Regions from separate parts of the Homo sapiens genome. Here all the other regions are linked to region 2. Evidence: promoter capture Hi-C in 16 types of primary human blood cells and fetal thymus (Javierre and others, 2016). All regions are on one chromosome and are shown on one strand. The core of a region is centred on a gene start or on the middle of the fragment in contact, and the rest is flanking DNA. Distances in the headings are between cores, read along the strand shown.

What was found. Contacts are between HindIII fragments. The CHiCAGO score rates a contact against its expected background, and 5 or more counts as called.
Region 1: a fragment that was not itself captured here is called in contact with the fragment with the promoter of EIF3M in region 2 in 5 of 17 cell types (non-activated CD4 T cells, naive CD4 T cells, total CD8 T cells and 2 more); the score reaches 11.9 in non-activated CD4 T cells.
Region 3: the fragment with the promoter of FBXO3 here is called in contact with the fragment with the promoter of EIF3M in region 2 in 1 of 17 cell types (total CD8 T cells); the score reaches 5.7 in total CD8 T cells.

Annotation. Positions count from the first base shown.
Region 1 is chr11:33,699,710-33,703,800 of GRCh38, forward strand. It overlaps C11orf91 (chromosome 11 open reading frame 91), which reads right to left and starts at 1,117. Exons shown (of 2, transcript NM_001166692.2): 1 at 536-1,117. The coding sequence starts at 1,031. CD59 (CD59 molecule (CD59 blood group)) reads right to left here. Exons shown (of 4, transcript NM_000611.6): 4 at 3,301-4,091. RefSeq lists silencers at 783-872, 1,053-1,292. The HindIII fragment of the contact is 897 bases long and covers 1,404-2,300 here.
Region 2 is chr11:32,581,400-32,585,171 of GRCh38, forward strand. EIF3M (eukaryotic translation initiation factor 3 subunit M) reads left to right here and starts at 2,432. Exons shown (of 11, transcript NM_006360.6): 1 at 2,432-2,530. The coding sequence starts at 2,489. RefSeq lists enhancers at 2,143-2,795, 2,438-2,587 and a silencer at 2,218-2,277. The HindIII fragment of the contact is 5,112 bases long and covers 2,147-3,772 here.
Region 3 is chr11:33,773,079-33,776,612 of GRCh38, forward strand. FBXO3 (F-box protein 3) reads right to left here and starts at 1,442. Exons shown (of 11, transcript NM_012175.4): 1 at 1,316-1,442. The coding sequence starts at 1,419. It overlaps FBXO3-DT (FBXO3 divergent transcript), which reads left to right and starts at 1,621. Exons shown (of 3, transcript NR_120550.1): 1 at 1,621-1,673; 2 at 2,176-2,285; 3 at 2,370-2,592. RefSeq lists an enhancer at 456-956 and silencers at 905-974, 1,435-1,534. The HindIII fragment of the contact is 5,455 bases long and covers 1-2,586 here.

The sequences.
Region 1 (4,091 bases), core at 602-3,101, 1.1 Mb after region 2:
AGCATTGAGAAGTGGAGTGTCCCAAAGCTGCCCTGGAAACGGCCTTGGGCCTTGTGGTTCTTGCACAACTCCCACCTCCCCCTACAGACAACTGACAGTCACCTTACTTCACCTTCCCCCCATGGAGAGCCCCGGTTTAGGACCGAACATTAAAGCTTAGGGACTGTCTGTGGTGGGTGGAGCTCCAGAGTACAGGGTAGGAGGATGACTGTGCAGGAGGATTAAAGTTCAGGACGGGGTGGTGGCGGATGGAGTTCCAGGTGTGGAGGCTCAGAGTCCAGATGACCCAAAGGGTTTAGGACGGAGGGAGGATGGAGTTTGGGACTAAGAGGCTCATGAAGTTCAGATCTGTGGTGGGGGGAGGAGTCGGTTAAGTCCAGGATAAGGGAGTCTGGGTGCTAGGGGATAGATTTTGGATCTGGGACTACTGGGGGCTGGAGTCAAACCAGGCTACATTTCGGGTCGGGGCACGGAGCCAAGGAGGGAGCTAGGGCAGGCTAAGGCTGGGCTCGGTGGCCCTGGCGAGGTCACGCACAGCTCTGGGAGTCGAAGCCGTCCCCAGTGATGGTGAGCAACTCCAGCTCCTTAATCCGGATCTCCAGCTCGCAGAGCTCCTCCGGGTGGGAGGCAGAGGCGAGCCTGGGGGTCGAGGGGCAGGGGACCAGGGGCGAGGCAACCACCTCAGGCCCCGGCGGCGGTGAGTAGAAGAAGCGCAGAGGCTCGTAGGGGATGGAGGCCAGGCCGGAGGGCCAGGGCGAGGGCCAGGGGCGCTCGCTGGAGGGACCCAGGCCGGGTGGTGGCGGGGGCGGGGGCGCCGGGGCGGGGAGCGCCTGGGACAGGGACCGGGCCCCCGCCGCCCCGCCCACTGGCGCCCCGCCCGCCTTCAGCGGCACGAAGAGCTTCTTCCAGATGTTGAAGTCGCTGAGCGGGGACGAGGAGATGCCGCGGTCGTACAGGGACGGGAAATAGAGGGGCGGAGCCGACCGCTGGCTCATGGTGGGGCTGTGGCTGCCGCGCCGCCCCTTTGGCATCGTTTGAATGAGGGTCTGCGTGGGAGGAACCCCGCGCCGGGAGACGCGCGCTCAGGCCCCGAGTCGCCGGGGTTTCGAGGTTCCACAAGCCCCGCCCCGATGGAGCGCGGCCCCACCCTTTCGCCTCAGCCCGGCCCCTAACAGGCGGGGTTCCAAAGCCCGGACGACCACGTCCCGGAACGCGGCCCCGCCCACCTCGGCTGGCCGCACCCCGCAGTTAGAAAGCCACGCCCCCTGGCTCGCCTCGCCTCGCCTCCCGTCCCTCGACTCCGCCCACCGCCTCGCTCTTGCTCTGCGACCCCGCTGGCTTCCGTTGTCATATCCCAGCATACCCTCATCCAGAACAGGCAGCGGGCCAGGGCTGCAGAAGAAAGCTTACTTCAGGCTTCCTCTCTTTCTCCCATGAGGGAGAAAAGTATTTCCTAGAAACCTGGCCCCTGCACCAGCAGACTTACCTCATTGCCTCACTGGCCGCGCCCACAGCAAAGAAGTCTGAGAAAATCAGTGTCTGATTTTTCATCCACTACTGTGGGAGGCAGACAAAGGAGAAGAGGATTGATTGGGAATGGCTGTTAGAGCCAACCTATGTATCTGCCAAACGTTAGCAGTGTTGAGGAAGATTCTAGAAAAGGGGATCCTCATCTGGTTTGTAATAGACCTGAAGGAGTGTTTTCAGTGAAATGCAGTTTAGTTCTCTTCCAAACACAGATATCACCAGGAGCTAACAGGCAACGAGCTAACCACCAAAAGGAAATCCTGTCCGCCCTACCTCAAATACTTCACCCATTGCTTATGAGCGATTTGGACATTTTGTCCAAAGGACATGACAGCTCATTTATGTGAGTAACCTGTATTAGCCATAGACTGAGGGGAAATAACTAATACATTTTCTTGAGAGCCTCTGCCTAATGATCACTGGTATGACTAGTGATGGGTGGAGGGCAGTTAAAGAGTCAGTATCAGCTTCACAAGTTAAATATATATATGCATATGTATCTGCACACACAGTGCAAAGTGTGTGTGTGTGTGTGTGTGTGTGTGTAGCAGCAAAGTGGAGAGAGTCAGATATTCAAGCTGGGTAGCCTTGGACAAGTTGCTTGACTTTTAAGTAGGTTTTCCATAAAATAGAAATAAGAAAACCAGGCTGCCTCATAGGGTTGTGATCAAACAGAAGACGGAACAGTGTGTGTGTGAAACACTTGAACTTGGACACTTTGTCCAAACACAAGAGGCAGCTGTCCCTACTAAGGGGCATGTCTGAAACTGGGAAGCTTTTTCTTCCCACACTGAGCTTCCCACACTTAGTTGTCACACGCAGTATTTGCTCTCTGACTTTGGCAGCCACCCATCATTGTTTATTCATACAAGTGATCACTAGGCTGAGGCTCTCAAGAAAATGTATTTCCCCTCAGTCTATGGCTAATACAGGCCATGTGCGATAGCTCAGCACCCAGCCTGTAATCCCAGCACTCTGGGAGTCTGAGGTGGGATCTCTTGAGGCCAAGAGTTTGAGAACAGCCAGGGGCAACATAGCGAGATTCTGTCTCTATAAAATAATTTAAAAAATTAACCAGGTGTGGTGGCATTTGCCTGGAGCCACTCAGGAGCTGAAGTGGGAGGATTTCTTGAACCAAGGAGGCTGAGGTTGAGGCTGCAGTGAGCCACAATCATAGCACTGCACTCCAGCCTGGGTGACAAGGCAGGACCCTGTCTCAAAATAAATAAAATAAAATAAAATAAAAAATACCCTTATCTTCCATTAGTTTCCCCCACATATTTAACTTCCCATAATTTACTGCCCAAGAAGCTCAAACCTCTTTTCCTTTGTCTTATCACTTTTCTACAATCGCCCATTGTTAAAATTGTATATAAGCTCTCAAGCCACTTCTTTGGGTTTTCACTTTGTTTCTGTAAGAACCCCATGTACCTGCGTAATAAACTTTGTCTTCTGTTAATCTGTCTTTGTCAGTTTAATTCTCAGGCCCCAGGCTCTGAACCTAAGAGATTAGAAGAAAAATTTTTTCACCCCTACAGAACCACAGTAATGGTAAGAACCAGGGTTTTGGACTCAAGACTTGGGACCAAACCCTGGATCCACTATGTATTTGGCTGTGCGGCTGAACCTTTCTCAACCTCATTTTTTCATCAATATAATGGGAATAGTAATGGCATCTACTTGCTTAGGTTGGCAAGACTAAGTGAGACAGTTTAAGTACCTGGCAATGGCTTGTGTTCAACATTAGCTCTTGTTATTACATATTAAAGGCCCTTAGAAGGAAAAGAGATTTTGCGTTATATTTTTTAAATGAAGCAATACAATCATTTTTTATGTATATATCTAGTTGAGGAGAAAAAATTACAGATTTTTTCCCCCTTACTCCAAGATAATCTAAACAGATTTTACTCTGGATGGCTTAATTATAACATAATCCATGAAGTTATAGCCAGGGGGTTAAATAAGAAGTTGATGACAAACTTGGTTTCTCTAACAAGTATGCAAGAAAACTCAAGTGCCACAATGAACACCCATAAACTGCTGTCAGGAGGCAAAGTCCCTATGAGGTAATAATAAACCCACGAGGTTAAGGCAAAACCCTACGGTTGTTTCTGCAAACAAATGTCCAGGAAACTCAAGTTTGTGATGAAAGAACAGTCTTGAATTCAACTTCAGCAGAACCTTTCCCTCCCTGGGCTCCAAAGCACTATGTCACCTACCTCTCCACTCAAATGCCCCATTAAGTACCATCCTGTTGGAGCTTCCTAACGCCCCTGCTCCCTGGTTTCATTTGGAACCAACTGAGAGACACAAGTCCCTCTTCGTTGATCAGGGTCAGTTGAAAGATGTAGCTGTCGGCCTGGTAGCCAGGTGGGCTTGCTAATCCTGCACCTCTACCTTAAGCTTACCCAGCGTGAGGCCAGGTTAGAAAGTCACAGGCCTTGGCAGCAGGCAGAGAGCCTTTACTGTCATAGTGAAGAGCTTGCCAAGGACAGGACTGATTCTTCCTCCAGCCTCACCTATCGGGGCAGTCATTGTTCCGCTGTCAGGAGGAGAGGGGCCAG
Region 2 (3,772 bases), core at 1,182-3,681:
TTCCCAAGACTACTCGGGCCTACCACACCTCCATCGTGTGTGTGTGTGTGTGTGTGTGTGTGTGTGTGTGTGTGTGTTTATTTTGAATGAATGAAAGTTTAAAGTTTTAAATAACTGTCCATATCCTCTCTCAAGAATTTCCCTGGGTGTTCTTTTACTTCACAAGGATCACAGAATGAAAAAAAAAATAACAATAGTAAAAAAGAGACAAGTCTTTTAAATATTTGATAAAATGGTATTGTATTGTTGAGTTTGTATTCCTCGAACTTTGCAATAATAAGGCGAGGGGAGGAGCCCAGGGATTATTCCTTCAGAATCAACTGGTATTTCCTGATGATCTGCTGTGGGCTGGGCACTGAGGTGGGTGCGGAAATGCAGGGTGAACATGACACAGGTTCCCTGCCTTCAGTTTCACTTTCCACATTGTTAAGGCTATTCCATGCAAGAATGAATCCTTTCAAATTTAGTCTAGCCAGATGTTTTGTGTCCTCTATCCCCTCAACCTTGTTTTTTTCCTTTGCTTGGCATTTATTTTATATTGAAGTATAATTGTGGTATCAATAAACTGCACATTTTTGAACTGCACACTTTGAAAAATGTTATATATGTATACAATCATGACACAATCACAGTCAAAATAATGAACACATCCATAACCCCCAAAAACTTCCTCAAGCCCCTCTGTATCCATCTTTCCCCCCGCCTTACCCAATCCCTGCCCCCAGGCAACAGCAATCTATAATGCTGTCATTATAGTTTCTACTTTCTAGAGTTTTATATAAATGGAATCATACAGTATGATGATTAACTGAACAAAATTATTTTGAATTATTTTGGGATTGTCAACTAAAGAAAAAAAATCAAGCTTTTATTTTAAGAGATGGAGTCTCACTCACTTTGTCACCCAGGCTGAAGAGACTGAAAAAAAAAAAAGATTCATCTGTGTTTTTGCATGTATCAATAATTCATCCTTTTTTGTTGCACAGCAGTATTCCATTAAGCAGATGTATAACAATTTTTTGATCCACTTCATTCATCTATTGATGAACATTTGGGTTGTTTCCTTTTTTTTGGCTATTGAAAATAAAGTGTTAACTTTTTGGAAACTGTCTCCTGAAAAAGCTAAACATAAATTTACTAAATAAGCCACTGATTCCTCTCATAGGTACATACCTAAGAGAAATATACGTACACACAAAATCTTGTGCACTAACGTTCATGGAAACATTATTCATAATAGCCAAAAAATGGAGACAACCCAAGTGTCCACCAACTGATGAACAAATCAACACAATGTGGTATATCCATAACAATGCAATATTATAAGCAATAAATAGGAATATAGGAGGGATACATGGACGAACCTTGAAAACATTATGCTAAATGAAGTAAGTCTGACTTAGGCCACCGTGTATTTTGTGATTCCACTTACATGAAATGTCCAGAAAAGGCAAATTCATAGAGACAAAATGTAGTGTTTGCCAGGGGCTGGAGAGAGGTGGGGCCGGGGGTCTGGGGAGTGATTGCTGATGGGTAGTTTCTTTTGTAGGTGATGAAAATGTTCTAAAATTAAATAGTAGTGATGGTTGTGCAACTCTGAAAATACTAAAAACTACTGAATTGTGTATTTATTTTATGAGACGGAGTCTCGCTCTGTCGCCCAGGCTGGAATGCAGTGGCATGATCTGGGCTTACTGCAACCTCCTTCTCCCAGGTTGAAGTGATTCTCCTGCCTCAGCCTCCCGAGTAGCTGGGATTACAGGCGCGCACCACTATGCCCCGGTAATTTTTGTATTTTTAGTAGAGACGGGGTTTTGCCATGTTGCCCAGGCTGGTCTCCAGTTCCTGACCCCAAGTGATCCGCCCACCTCGGCCTCCCACAGTGCTGGGATTACAGGCGTGAGATCCACTGCGCCCAGCCAAAGCTGCTATTTTTTAAAAGCGGCAATGAACATTCTTGTACAAGTCTTTGTACGGACATACAGTTTGGGTAGAAGAATAGCTGGGTCATATGCTGGGTGGATACTGAACTTTTTCAGAAACTGCCGCTCCTCTGCAAAGTGACTGCACCATTTTATGTTCCCAACAGCAGTACAGGAGAGTTTCAGGTCTACACAAACCCATCCATACTTGGTAAGACCCAACAAGCTTAACATTTCAAGGGAAGGTGGACTTAGGGAGGCGCCAGCGGGAGGCAACATCAATGCAGTTAGCTACACGGGCCTGAAAACTGGAGGCCGCGACAAGCGTCGCTGAGTGGAGGCCCAGTAAGTCCCACCCACTAGGCCAGCCCGAGCGCGTCTGCCACGCCCTGCTGCATTCCGCGGCGAGAGCGCGCGATAGGATTGGCTCTCAAGGCCCCGCCCCAACAGGTCGCCGCTCAGGGTGACCCGGAAGCAGTTGCGCCAGCAGCGTCGCGCGGCCCAGTTCCCTTTTCCGGTCGGCGTGGTCTTGCGAGTGGAGTGTCCGCTGTGCCCGGGCCTGCACCATGAGCGTCCCGGCCTTCATCGACATCAGTGAAGAAGATCAGGTGTGCTTCGGTCTACGGGTGCCGCCACGGTGGGGTGGGGGATGTCCTAGTAGCGCAAGGGACCGCTGCCGAGCCTGGGCCGGGCGGCCGGGGCTGACACCCGCAGCTGTTCTACACGCGAGAATGGGGAGGCCGGTGGCTGGGGCGCGCGTTCCTGGCCTCGATTCGCACCAGCTCGCCGGCCGGCGGTCCCAGCGCGGGGCCCGACGCTTCACCGCCAGCTCCCTGGTCGGCGTCGGGACTCATTTCTGACGACATAGTACTTTTAGACTGATGAGGAATGATGTCTGCTTCCGTCCGTCAAATGCAGCCACATTCGGAGTGGGAGGTGGTGAATCTGTAGTTAGCATAAGCAGGGTAGGGAAAAGTAATTTTGTGCTAAAGATCAAAATGCCGGGCCGGGCGCGGTGGCTCACGCCTTTAATCCCAGCACTTTGGGACGCCGAGGCGGGCAGATCACGAGGTCAGGAGATCGAGACCATCCTGGCTAACACGGTGAAACCCTGTCTCTATTAAAAATACAAAAAAATTACCCGGGCGCGGTGGCACGCGCCTGTAGTCCCAGCTACTGCCGAGGCTGAGGCAAGAGAATCGCTTGAACCCGCGAGGCGGAGTTTGCAGTGAGCCAAGATCGCGCCACTGCACTCCAGCCTGGGCGACAGAGCGAGAGTCCCTCTCAAAAAAAAAAAAAAAAAAAAAGATCAAAACGCCCGTATTACTGTGCGATCACAGGCGAAGACGACCCGTATTTTACACTTGCTTTCTATTCCTACTTGTATGAGGGTGAGAGTTGTTCTGTACCCCGGAAGTATGGTATCAGTTCAGCTCTTAAATTCTGTGAGGCATACACCTGATGGACCATCCTGATATTTTTAAATTTCCCGTTTGGCGTTTGCTCTTTGGTATACAGGGCTGATGGTTCTCATTTTCCCCATAACAAAAGTTTAACCTTATTTGGTAGGAGTTGAACACGACATCGTATTCTTTAAGTTAATTTTGTATTGCTGAAAATTCTTCTGTGAAGTCCTAACTTTGTCGTTTTATTTCTGTTACTCCACTAACACGGAAGTAACTTCCAAATGATTGGATATCATAAACTTCGCATGGAAGTTTACTTGTCTAAGACAACTTACAGAATTGCGGGAGTGAGTTCCCCCTCTCTCCTCCCCCCGCCCCATGGTAGGAATGCAGTTCCGATGCTCTGAAGAGCAAAGTAAGAAGGGAAAATGCAAAAGGCGGAGA
Region 3 (3,534 bases), core at 192-2,691, 1.2 Mb after region 2:
GTGGAGAAATAAGTCCTGGAGGACCTTAGATATACAAGCCAGATGATAAGAGCTTTCAATGCCCCAGAAGTTTAGGTTATAGTCTATAAACATAGGGGTGTCACAGGTTTTAAGGAGAATGACAACCAGATGTGTCTTGGAAAGATTACTCTGGCAGCAATCAAAAGTTGGAGACTGTTAGTTAAATTGTAAGTATTTTCTAGAAAAATAAAATTGCTAGCAGGTACAGGTAGCGACCAGTACAGGTAGTGACCAAAAACTTGAGGTATCTCTCTATCACCACTTAGCTAGGCCAACAACTATCTGTAGCTCCAAGAAATCTGTATTTATAAAAAGACCTCTAATAACACAGGGCACAATCATCAAATGGCTAGAATCTAATGGTTAATCCAAACACAAAACAAATCTCGCCCACCTATCCTAAGAGGGCGACTTTGCATCCTCTGCAAATATATACGGTAGCACAGGAAACTCACAGCCATGCCACCCCCTGTCAAGGGTGTAAACAATCCTGACAGCTGGGGGGCGGGCTGGCAGCGCCATTTCTTCCACCACCCCAGACAGTCCCAAGTTCTGAAGAAACTGGGCATTGAACCACCCTTATCAGCAACCGGTGTTTATTTCTGGAACAGATGCTAGTAATGTGGGAAACCCAAGGTGTCCAGGAGAAAAGATAGTCACCGGTATGGCATCACCGGAAGTCAGTACCAAAACATAAAATCCAACATCGAACCGTAAGGAGCAATGCTGACAGCAAAACAATTCTCACGCACTGAAGTCCGAAAGTGAGCCCGGACAGCGATTCTGGCGCTGGGGAAGTCGCGCCAGGGGAGTAAGGGGTTGCCTATCTTCTCCTCTCGCTCACCCACCTGCCCACCCCGGCGCCAGACTCCGCAGGCCCCGGACCCAGCAGAGAAGAGCGCCTGGCCGGGACAGGGGCTTTTACACAGCAGCAGGGACTGACCCCAACCGGGCGGGCACCTGCGGGGCCAGCGGGGGTCCGCGGAGCGCGGCGGTGCGGCACGAGGGCCACTACCTCCTTCTCTTGCAAGTGGGCCTCACCGAGGCCTGGGAGAGAGATATCTCGTCGCTTCTCATACCTGGGCCCAGGACAGGAGGAAGACTCAGGGCGAGGCCCTTTCCGCCCCCGTCTCGCCCCGGTCCCCGGTGGCTCCGCAGGATGAGGGCGGCCCTGGCGTCACCTTCTGGTGTCGCGGAAGCTCGGGTCCTGTCAGCGGCCCCGACCCCCTTTCCCCCTGCCTCACCGCCTCCTCTCCCCATGCCCCCACCCCTGCCATGCGTGTCGTCCCATTACTTGATTAGATCCCGATAGTCCAAAAAGGATAAGATGAGGAGCAGGGGATCGGTGGGCAGCGACTCTAGGGTCAGCGGCGCCGTCTCGGTCTCCATGGCCGCCATCTTGCCTGGCCCGGTGCAGGTCTGGCCCCGCCCTGGCCCCGCCCCTGCCCCGCCCCCACCAGCGCCCGAACCGCCCCCAGCCGCTCTCACAGGTTTGTTATGTAACCGCCGGGCCAGCCCCGCCCTCAGGGTGGGCTGAGGTGCGGCTCCCTGGAGACCCCGCCCGCTAGCCGGGAGCCAGCGGCGCAGTGCGAGTTCAGCCCGCTTTCTTCGCGCTCCGCGTCAAATCTCTCCAGCTCTGTTCTCGCATCCCGGTTCGTAAACTTGCCCAGCCCGGGACCCTTTTGTTGCCAAATCTGCCTCGGTCTGCCCAACTCCTCCTGCGAAATTTTACACTCAGTATGCAGGAAGCCTCGCTCAAAATCTGACACTCCTCCACGCCCTTGGTCCCCAAATCCATTCCTTCTCTTTGTTTTCCAACCCGAGAACCCCTCGTTTTCCCCGCTCAGCCTTCCCCACCCCGCTTGTCCCCCGCACACAGCAGGGCCGCTCCGAGACTTGTCCACTCAGCAAGAGCAGAGCTGAGAATCAGCCAGGGACGCCAGCTGAAGGCCCTTCTCCCAAATTAAGGAAATAATTGTTGAGGGCTTAACTTCACGCCCCTCCCCGCCTTCCTAAGTAAAATGTGTACAAGGAGTGAGTCTGAGTCTCAGCCGCTGTCCCTTAATTTGGTTATCATGGCTATTTTCAGCCTATTAGGGCAATGCAAAGGGTACAGTGTGGATTTTTTCCAGCTTTAAAATTTATTTTGGCCAGGGTTTAGATCCCGCAGAGTTAAGTATCCCGCGTGTGAAGGGATGAACTGAGACTCCCAGAGGGCATAACTGATGGAGGCACGAAGATGTCTGCTCTTCAGCTTTGCCAAGGTGATATTAAAATGAGAGTGGGGGAAGTATAATGGGTCCATACATCACTTGCCTGATTTCTTCTTTTCCATTGCTTTTCCAAAGGTAGTATGGTGTAAGGGGCTTTGGGGAATCCAGACAGACCTGGACTTCACACGCCCGTCATTTATTTCACTACTAGTGAAATGCTGGCGTAGTTACGCCTAAGTTCTCTGAGACTGTCCCTCATCTCTAAAACCACCCCTCCTCTGGTGAACTAAGGATGGCGATAACGCTTTATGTAAAGTGCCTGGCCAGATACTCAATAAATGTTAATTTTCCAAGCTTATACATGCATCAGTCACTAAGTTCTCCAAACATTTCCATATCCTGGAGAAAGTTTCTCTCAATTATTTGGAAGAGTGGAAGTGATATGCCCCGCCCCAAAAAAATCCATTTCCTCCATTCTTCATACCATTAATGCCTTCTATTTATGGTTTTGCTTAATAGTTATAACCCCTGCCACCCAGCCAACAAAACAGAACAACAGCAACAAAAAACTCTGCCTACATCTCTGTGCTTCCAAATTGTTTATGCATATGCTTAGAAGAACATTTATTGAATTGGATTTCAAGTACTTGTTCTGTGTCTCTCTCGTCAAACTGTAAACTCTCAGTCTGACTCATCTTTCTAATTTCAGGGCTTAGCAAGTTATTCAACAACTAGAAAGTTTAAATTCAGGTTGAATGGATGAATGAAGACAGAATAATCATTTCTGTTTACAAGGGAACCATACCTTTTTACATAGACAAATGCTTGTAAAGGTATTTGATCCTGATTTATGTTTGTCTCCATTTTCTACTTCAGATGGGCCACCTGTTTTAAATCCAAAAGCTGGTAGGAGTTTCAGGTACACTGCATTTGCTTCTGCTGTCCTATTGCACTTGGACTTGGTGCAGCTATGACCTAATGCAGAAGACAAAGTATGAAGCTACCAAACTGTCAGGGCCAGAACTAAGGTGAGGCAAGAAAGCTACTTGCTTGGGGCACAAATTTAAGAAGAGGTGCCAAAAAACTGAATAATCAAATAAATAACATTTTAATGCAATATTTTTAAAAATAAAAATTAATGCAAAAAAAATTCACAGTGAACAAAATACCAAACTCTTAAACAAAAACAGGATCCCACAGTGCCATGTAAGCCATATTAGAGCCTGATGCAAAAAGAAAAAACAATGCGCAGCACTAAATACATGCTTTTTATGGTTTTGTTAGTTTGTTTTTTGAAACG